Regions from separate parts of the Homo sapiens genome. Here region 2 is linked to region 1. The links are contacts of gene promoters, found by promoter capture Hi-C in blood cells and fetal thymus (Javierre and others, 2016). All regions are on one chromosome and are shown on one strand. The core of a region is centred on a gene start or on the middle of the fragment in contact, and the rest is flanking DNA. Distances in the headings are between cores, read along the strand shown.

Region 1 (4,562 bases), core at 805-3,304:
AAAGTACATATTCGAAGGCTTTATCCCAGATGATCAGAACCTGCATTTTTAACAGGCTCCCTCAGATGACACTAAAGACCTGGAGAGCCACCAGGCAGTCTGGATATACCATGAACTAATGAGCTGTAAGCTTCAGGGTCCTCCACTTGCACAGGCCCTTTCCAAACCATCAGCAACTTTGTATTGTGATTTTTGTCTTTTTAAAGAGGTCTCCCAGAATTGCATGAGGTCCCACAAATTGTGGGTCTGCTCTTGGGTAGGATAAGTGGAAACCACTTAAGGTTTTCTGAGCAGAAGCACAAGCATTCAAGATACAATTTTCAAACTGGAAGGATCTGCAAGATTCCAGACCAGCACATCAAATATGCTTTAGAGAAATCCAGCCAGACTCAGCGGCTCATGTCTGTAATCCCAACACTTTGGGAGGCTGAGGCAGGCAGATCACTTGGGCTCAGGAGTTCAAGACCAGCCTGGCCAACATGGCAAAATCCCGTCCCTATAAAAAATACAAAACTTAACCAGGTATGGCGGCACACACCTGTAGTCCCAGCTACTTGGGAGGCTGAGGTGGGAGGATTGCTCAAGCCCGGGAGGCAGAGGTTAGCAGTGAGCTGAGATTTTGCCACTGCACTCCAGCATGGGTAATAGAACAAGACTGTTTCCAAATAAATAACTAAATAAATAGAAAGAGAAAGAAAAACCCAGCAGCCAGGAGCAGAACACAATAATGGCCTGAAAGAGAATATGAGGCCAGCATGGGGGCTCACATCTATAGTCCCAGCACTTCGGGAGGCCTGAGGCGGGAGGATCACTTGAGGCTAGGAGGTCGGGACCAGACTGGGCAACATAGTGAGACTCCCAATCTCTACAGAAAAATTTTGAGCCAGGCATGGTGTCGTGCCCCTGCAGTCCTTGCTAATAGGAGGCTGAGGCTGGAGGATCATGAGTTTAGGAAGCCGAGGCTGCAGTGAGCTATGATCGCACCACTGCACTCCAGCCTGGGCGACAGAGAGGCCCTTGTATCAACAAAACAAAAATGTGAGAGAGGGTAATAGTGAGAACTGGGGTCAGCCAGGTCTAAAAGAGTGCTGATGTCTTCACAGAAAAAGGGGAGGCAGGCCCTGGGCGGTGGCTCCTGTCTGTAATCCCAGCACTTTGGGAGGCCGAGGCGGGCAGATCACCTGAGGTCAGGAGTTCGAAACCAGCCTGACCAATATGGTGAAACACCGTCTCTACTAAAAATACAAAAAGTAGCCGGGTGTGGTGACGCGTGCCTGTAGTCCCAGCTACTCGGGAGGCTGAGGCAAGAGAATCACTTGAACCCGGGAGGTCGAGGTTGCAGTGAGCCGAGATCACGCAACTGCACTCCAGCCTGGGCGACAGAGTGAGATTCCGTTTCAAAAACAAAACAAAACAAAACAAAAAAAGTTGGTGGGGAGGCAGGAGGATACCTTTCGTGTTGGGTGGTGGAAAAGATTCCAGCGGGTGAGGTGGGAACTGAGCCCAAGCAAAGCAGCCCAATCTACCTTCTTTCTGTTGCACCCTACAAACGCTCTGAAAGCAGCTGAAGACAGAGTTCTCCAAGAAGGAACCAAAGGTCAAGATAATGCTGAGTCTGCCTTACACCCGCAGGCTTGCTGGGACCCACGCAGCCCGAGCCCCGGCCCGTTTCCTTCTCGGGCTGGGGCGCTGGATGGAGCACCGGGGTAGGAGGGCGGGCTCCGGGCGCCGGGAGCGCAGCTGCCGGGGGTCGGGGGGGCGGACAGGCCGGGTCCCTGCCACCCCAGCCAGGTCCGCGCCCGCGTCCCCGCGTCCCGCGGCCCCAGGGCCTCACCGCGCGCGCCCAGCTCGGCGGCCGCCACGTGCTCGGTGAGCACTGTCCCGAATCGCCGCAGCCGAGACACGATCCGCTCGTACAGCGTCCTGTCCTCGCGTCCGCCGCGAATGCTCCCGCAGAAGTACAGGGCCGGGCGGCCAGGCTCCCCGCGCTCCCAGCTCTCGCTGCGCCCCGGCACCATGGCAGCAGCCATTCCCCAGCCGCCCGCGCTCTCCGGCGCCAGGGGGCGCCAGCCCGCGGCCACGTGACCCCGCCCGGCCCAGCGCAGAGCCCGGCTGCTGAGTCCACACCTGTGGAATGGGGACGACGAACTGGGAGGATCCAGCCGGGACCCTTTCGGGAACACACCCTTCCTGGACTTGACGTTCGGATGCCTAACACGCACCTTAACTTGACCTTGTCCAGGCAGAACTCGAGGGCTTCCCCACCTCACCCGCTTCTGCTCCCCTCCTCCCCGCCGTCTTCCCCAGCTGCATCCTCCCAGCTGCTCAGGCCCAAGACCCTCGGAGTCATCTGGATCGTTCCCTTTCTCTCAAACTCTGCGTCCCATCCATTGACAACTCGTGTGGATTCGTCCTTCCAAATCTGAAATCTCACGACCGCCTACAGGGCCACCACCCTGGTCTAAGCCTCCTCTGGGCTCTCCACAGCCTCCTAACAGGTGTCCACATGTCGTGAGCTGCTCAAGGTCAGACAGAACCAGGTCCACCCACCTTTGTGTCTGTCCACAAGATCAGGTTTTTACTGATGCTATTTCAATCACAAAAGCTAGGCGTCACACGGAGTTCCCAAGAAGTCAGTTCTCCTTAGGACCACCTGTTCACTCGGTAGTCAGAGCCGCGGGCATGCAAGCTGGAGCCACTCCACAAGTCAGACTGTATTGCAAACCATCCATAGTATTATATGTAAGGATATAAATGTTACAGGTTAAAATTTCACATCAAACACAAGAACATTTAACATCAAGAGAAAAGGGGTTAACGAACCAGTCCAAGGAGAGTGCTGTGGACAGAGTCCCGGCCTGATGGGGATAGTCATCAAGAGCTTGCAAGGAAGAGTCCTTGATTTGGGCAGAGCCTTCAGAGGCAGACACCAGGTGCTGGGCACGAGTGATAGCAAGACTCGGTCTGTTAAGGTGGCCGTGTCTAGCTGCTGAAGTCCTGATCATTTTATGGTCCTTGAGTCCTCTGATGAGGACTTATAGTAAAGGGTGATGCCCTTATCTGGTTGGGTGTTGTCTCCATTGGTTAGGCGAACATCTGGACCCTGTTGGCTTGATGCCTTTTGAAATGTAAGATGAAGTTTTTTAAAACTTTATTTATTTATTTATTTATTATTTTTGGTGACAAGGTCCCTGTCGCCCACACTGGAGTGCAGAGGCACGATCATTGCTCACTGCAGCCTCAAACTCGTGCCTCAAGTTTGAGGGTTCAAGGAATCCTCCCACCTCAGCTTCCTGAGTAGCTAGGACTACAGGCACGTGCCACCATGCTGAGCTAATAAAAAAAAAATTGGCTGGGCTCGGTGGCTCATGTCTGTAATCCCAGCACTTTGGGAGGCCGAGGTGGGCAGATCACGAGGTCAGGAGATCGAGACCATCCTGGCTAACGCGGTGAAACCCCGTCTCTACTAAAAATACAAAAAGTTAGCCAGGCGTGGTGGCACACTCCTGTAGTCCCAGCTACTCCAGAGGCTGAGGCTGGAGAATCGCTTGAACCCGGGAGGCAGAGGTTGCAGTGAGCCAAGATCACGCCACTGCACTCCAGCCTAGGCAACAGAGTGAAACTCCATCTCAAAAAAAAAAAAATTGTAGAGACGAGGTCTCACTATGTTTCCACGGCTGGTCTCAAAACTCCTAGACCCAAGCAATCCCCCTACCTCAGCCTCCCAAAGCGCTGGGATTACAGGCATAAGCGAATGTGCCCAGTGATGGAGTCTTTCTAAGATGGAATTACTTATGTCAAGGGTTCTCTATACACCTCCCCTGGCCCTTCCCTGCTACAGTTTGCTCTCCACTCAGCAGCTTGAGTGATCTAGGTCATGACCCTCCTCTGCTCAAAACCCTCCAGTGGTTCCCATCTCACTTGGGGTAAAAACTGAAAACCTCACAGTAGCTCACAAGGCTCCAGATGATCCTGTCACCCTCTTACTTCCCTAACTCCAGCTTCTATTACTTTCATTCACTTCTCTGCCACCTCACTGGCTTCCTGGCTGTTCCTTAAGCATGTCAGCCATGCCCTTGCCTCAGAGTCTTTGCATTTGCTGTTCCCTCTGCCCGGAACACTGTTCTCCCAGGTAGCTTCCTGGCTCACTCCTCATTTCCTTCAAGTCTTTGTTCACACTTCACCTTCCCTGATCACCCTATTCAATATGGCAGCCCTCCATCCCCCAGTACTCTCTATCACCCTTCCCTACCTTGCCTTTTCTCCTTCTCATACACCATATAACTTATTAATTTTGTTGCATGTTTTTCTATACCTAGTAGAAGGTCGTTCACTGCTGTATTCCTGCTTTCTTTCTTTTCTTTCTTTCCTTCTTTCTCTTTCTTTCTTCTTTCTTTCTTTTTCTTTCTTTCCTTCCTTCCTCCCTCCCGTCCTTCCTTTCCTTCCTTCCTTCCTCCTTCTTTCTTCTTTCTTTCTTTCTTTTTCTTTCTTTCTCCTTCTTTCTTCCTTCTTTCCCCTTCCTTCCTTCCTCTCTCTCTCTTCTTTCTTTCCCTTCCTCCCTC
Region 2 (4,562 bases), core at 1,082-3,581, 110 kb after region 1:
AGGACAGCTGGCTTCTAGAGTGCTAAACACCCAGAAAATACAATAGGCAATTTACAGTTTTTACTGACTTATAATTTGCTAAGTATTCACAATTTGTTAATAAAAACAGCTACTATTACCACATTGATTCTTTCAATGAATTTTTATTGAGTACCTGCTATATGCCAGACAACTGTGCACTGTGAATACAATGATTAAAAAAATAGTAAGCAAAGACAGACTTCTTGCTTTGGGGAGTTTATCATGTACTTAAGGGGAGCATATATTAATCAAAGAAACATAAATGTAAAATTACAACCACATTAAATGCTACAACATAAACATACATGTTTTATATGTATTCTTCTGGAAGTGTATATGGGTTGAGGGCAAATCAGGAGAGTTGTGATTTTAAGAGTAGAAGATTTTCATTATAAATTCAACTTCGTGGCTTATCGATGAATATTGTATACACAACTTAGTTAAAAATTACATAAAAATTACTGCAATTTTAAACTCTAAAGAGATGTGCTCACAAAACTATTTGTCCATGTTCTCACATAAATCGTTAATAAATGAAGACTTTGTTTAGGTTCTTATCCTAGATTTAGTATGTAAGCTTTGTTAAGGTGAGAACCAAGGTTTAGGGATATATATTAATATATCAACAAAGCTTGCCTATATATGTTTATATATATATTATCTATATTATATATATAAAAGAAACTATACTATATATAGTATATATAAAACTATATACATATATACATATATATATATGTAAAAGAAACTACCTCACTTATTTCTGTTACAGGCTACATCCTCTCTGAACCCTCCTCCAATTTTTAAAATTACACTTTATGTTCCTATTGGATGCATGTGTCCTGTATGTCCACCTCCCCACCCCATTCTTCCTCAGTCCTGGAATCTGGCAGACTGATAAATTGACTATGTGCTGGCATGCTCTGCTACCAAAATACTAACTTTCTGACTTTTTAGAAAGATGAAGTGTCATGGGCGAAGTAATACTTAACTATATTATTCAGCAATATTAGCAGAATATTATGTGCCCTGTGAATATAATATGGCTTGTAAAGCAGGAAGCCCCCCATTTGCAAGGCCAGGGGGAATTTTTAGCGGGTTATACACCTTAGGTAAAATTAGGTATTTGCCCAAATTTAAACATAATTGCTGATCATCTGCTTCTCACAATTGAGGATATCTGATAAAAGTTGTTCCTGATGTTTGTAAAATTTAAAACATAGTTATATTACACCATAAGCTGCATTTAAAATTCAGGGCCCATTTCTTCCATGTGCCTAAGTCTCCTAAGTTGAAAGTTTATTCAGTACTGTGATAGTAGAGAACAACAAAAAAATATGCTCTATCTCCAGCTACTGGGTTAGAATTCTGTCCTTCCTTTCACCTGTCTTCTCTGGATAGGTTCCAAAGCTAGATCCCACTAACCAAAAGGAAGGAGGCAGCAACACTTCCTGCCCAGAATACAGAATCCTCAAAGTTCTCCCTCTGCTGGTTCAAGGAAGATATAAAGAATGTCACTCCCGTAACTCTTAAGTGAGCATTATTTTTGAAAAAGCCGGATTGGTAGATGCCTTTGGTGTAAATCCTGAAGTTATCCAGAGAATACAAGAGGAGTTACTACCAAAGCTTAGGCTCAAAGTACTCCAGCCCTAGCTACCTGAACTAGTTCTGCCCTTCCTACAATAAATTTTGCCTCTTTTTCTCTTCTCACTCAAGTAGCCCCCTCCTAACCTACAGGGTAAGATTTCAATGCCCTCTGAGGAAGTAAGGTTAGGATTGGGATCTTGATATGGTTACCTCCTCCCAACTCTTTCTCTAAAACCATCAGTCTCCCCCTAAAGGGAAGTGGAACTAAGTGAACAGGACTGAAAATCAGCACAAACTGGCATTAAAAATTATGTTCCCTGAATTCCTATAGATAACCTGCTATAACAGGGAGGGAGTAGTTCTCTGGGAAAACAAATCTCTCTGAAGCTTACTTGGGTTTAAACTCTTCTAAATGGCACCTTTTGAGTTAGTCTATGGTTTCCAAGCAAGAAAACTGCATTGAACTCAGGCTTTGTCCTAAAAACCAGGGCTAGAAAGGTGACATGGGCAGGATACCCTGACCCTGTACATATTGGTGCTAGGATAAAGATAACGATTCTTATCTCAAAGGAAACAACACAAAACAACTCTGTGACACAGTAAGGTAAACTAACTTGTCTAAAATCACAGCAAGGTAAATGACTGAGGCACAGTCAAGGATCTAGCTCTCCCAAATCTGTGTCCTTTCCATAACATAAGAGAGGCCAGAATGACTTCTAAATTGACATTAGTCAAAAAAATTAAAAATCCTTCCCAATGTTGACCTAGGGATTTTATAGCTCTGTACATAAGGAAACAGGAAAAAAAAAATTGGGGGAGCGGGGAGGTTAATCCAGATCAGCAATTTTGTATTATCTTTGAGGAACAGGTGGGTAAATAAGACTCCGAAGGCCCTGTTGAGTCAGGTTATAAACTGCTGACAACAGGGATACAAGAGGAAACTGGGACAGAGAAAATCTGAGGACTGAGCTCCCTAATTCCCAAGAGCAAGAACCTGATTGTCCTAGGGGAGCTCAGTTCCCAGAAAATCCTACGGAGAGTCAACACAAAGGTATATAAAAAGCTTCACAACAGGAAGATACCAATACCAGACAACTGTTGCCTACTCACTACCCACCCAGGCTGCGCTGGGGCAGACTATATATCCTAACATTCTGGCATGAAGTAGTTCTGACAAGTGAGGAAAGCATGGTTGCGGGTGCGGATAGACAATAGGGCAGCAGGGATTCACTGTTCTAGTTTTCCTTTGGAGTTCAAATGTGTGTGATTTCAAAACAAAAATCCAGAAGGAAACATGAGATTAATGCATTTATTCCAAGTAATTAACACATTAAAAATAAAGTTAAACTTGTCCAAGCCAACTCATAAATTCTTTAATCTTTTTAACAAAATATACAACCCCAAACATCGTACTATGGTTGAAATTAATTGGGAAAGGAGGAGGTAGAGGAAAGGATACATATGGGTTTGTGGAACAGGGAATGAGTTCAATCTCAAGACAAGTTTCAGAGATCTTCTACCCCTTCACAACACAAATGGCTGCTAAACAATTTAATACAAAGTGTTATTGGATCACAATACAATGAACAAAGGCCATTTCAAAAATAAAAGTGATCTCAAAAGCATATCTGCTCCTGGCAATGAACCATGAATAAGCCTTACCGATTTGTCGTCTTCTAAAAGTAAGCCTGCCAGATATTCTTCCATGTTTATTTCCAAACAGGTTTGTGGGTTAGCAGGACAATGCATCTCAAGAAAGGCAACAGAGTAAGGGAAGTACAGGAGTTGACATGCCAATAAGGGGTGTAAACAGTAAACAAAAGAGCTACTCACGCTGCATTTCAAACAATGTTAAGGCAGGCCCATCCAAATGGAAGCCTAAGAGATGAACAATTCTTCCAAGTTTTCCATTTCAGCAAGCTTTCTGGTGTTTTTCCCAGAGATGCATCAACTGCCCAGGAAATTGGGTAGGAATACAACACAGCAACTGGAGAGGTCAGCTGCCTCCATCCTCCCCCACATTTCAGAAATGGCAGAGTCAAAGCCAAAATACAATCAAAGCACACTATGTGGTGAGCCAGTTAGACATGTGATTTTAATGACAAAGTGGGAGAAAATAAATTGGCCAAAAAAATTAACAAAATACATTTTTACAGATATATATATATATATATAAGTTGTTATCGATTTGTCTGGTGTTTTAAGGGGAAAGGGAAAAGGAAAGGAGGTAAATTTTTTAGCTTCCATGAACATTTACTTTAAGATGCTGACTGCATCTCTTGGTGTAGGTTCCAGATGAGATAACAAACTAGTCTTGGATCATCTGGGCATCTGATTTCTAGAAGCCAATGATTCACTCACAAGTAGCTCTAGGTATTTATTCTTAGTTGTGAACACTGGATTCTGTGTGGTCCTGGATGGCACCAACTGTAGTTTCCTGTTCAGGCATTCCCTGAGGGACCATATTGTCTTCAATTACCTGCTCCCTTGGAGGGGACCTTGACACTGGAGCTTTAACCAAATTCAGAGGGTCGCCACTGTCATCATCTACTTGCAGAATTGCCACCTCTGTGGTGGATGCATTCGATATTTCTAGCTGTAATGGCCCCAACTCCAGGGAACTACATTTAGAAGGGTCACCTGGCTCAGAGAGTGGAGAACACAGTTTATCTTTTTGAACTCCAGAGGTCCGTGTGACAAAGTCAACAAGGTCTGGAAGGCAAGGAGATGGCCCAAGGCCTGCAGAATTAATTGTTTTTAATTCCAATCCGAGTGACTCTTGTTTGTCTAATTGGGAAGATTCTTTTACTTCCTCAGGCATCATTCCTCCTGCTAACAGGTCAAGGGCCTGGTGTGTTCCCTCTAGGCCCCCCAAGCCACGGTCAACATTTTCTGTAAGTCCAGTTTTCAAAATGTTAGGAGAAGGGATCCTAACACTCCTGGGATTAGGTGAG

Evidence for each region. Contacts are between HindIII fragments. The CHiCAGO score rates a contact against its expected background, and 5 or more counts as called.
Region 2: a fragment that was not itself captured here is called in contact with the fragment with the promoter of DNPH1 in region 1 in 2 of 17 cell types (M2 macrophages and M0 macrophages); the score reaches 5.6 in M2 macrophages.

Annotation. Positions count from the first base shown.
Region 1 is chr6:43,227,427-43,231,988 of GRCh38, forward strand. DNPH1 (2'-deoxynucleoside 5'-phosphate N-hydrolase 1) reads right to left here and starts at 2,055. Exons shown (of 4, transcript NM_006443.3): 1 at 1,835-2,055. The coding sequence starts at 2,030. RefSeq lists silencers at 1,664-1,853, 1,914-2,353 and an enhancer at 1,837-2,336. The HindIII fragment of the contact is 28,530 bases long and covers 129-4,562 here.
Region 2 is chr6:43,333,167-43,337,728 of GRCh38, forward strand. ZNF318 (zinc finger protein 318) reads right to left here. Exons shown (of 10, transcript NM_014345.3): 10 at 2,904-4,562. The coding sequence ends at 3,992. Among named protein-coding and RNA genes, the nearest start is that of CRIP3, 27 kb to the left of the region's middle. The HindIII fragment of the contact is 676 bases long and covers 1,994-2,669 here.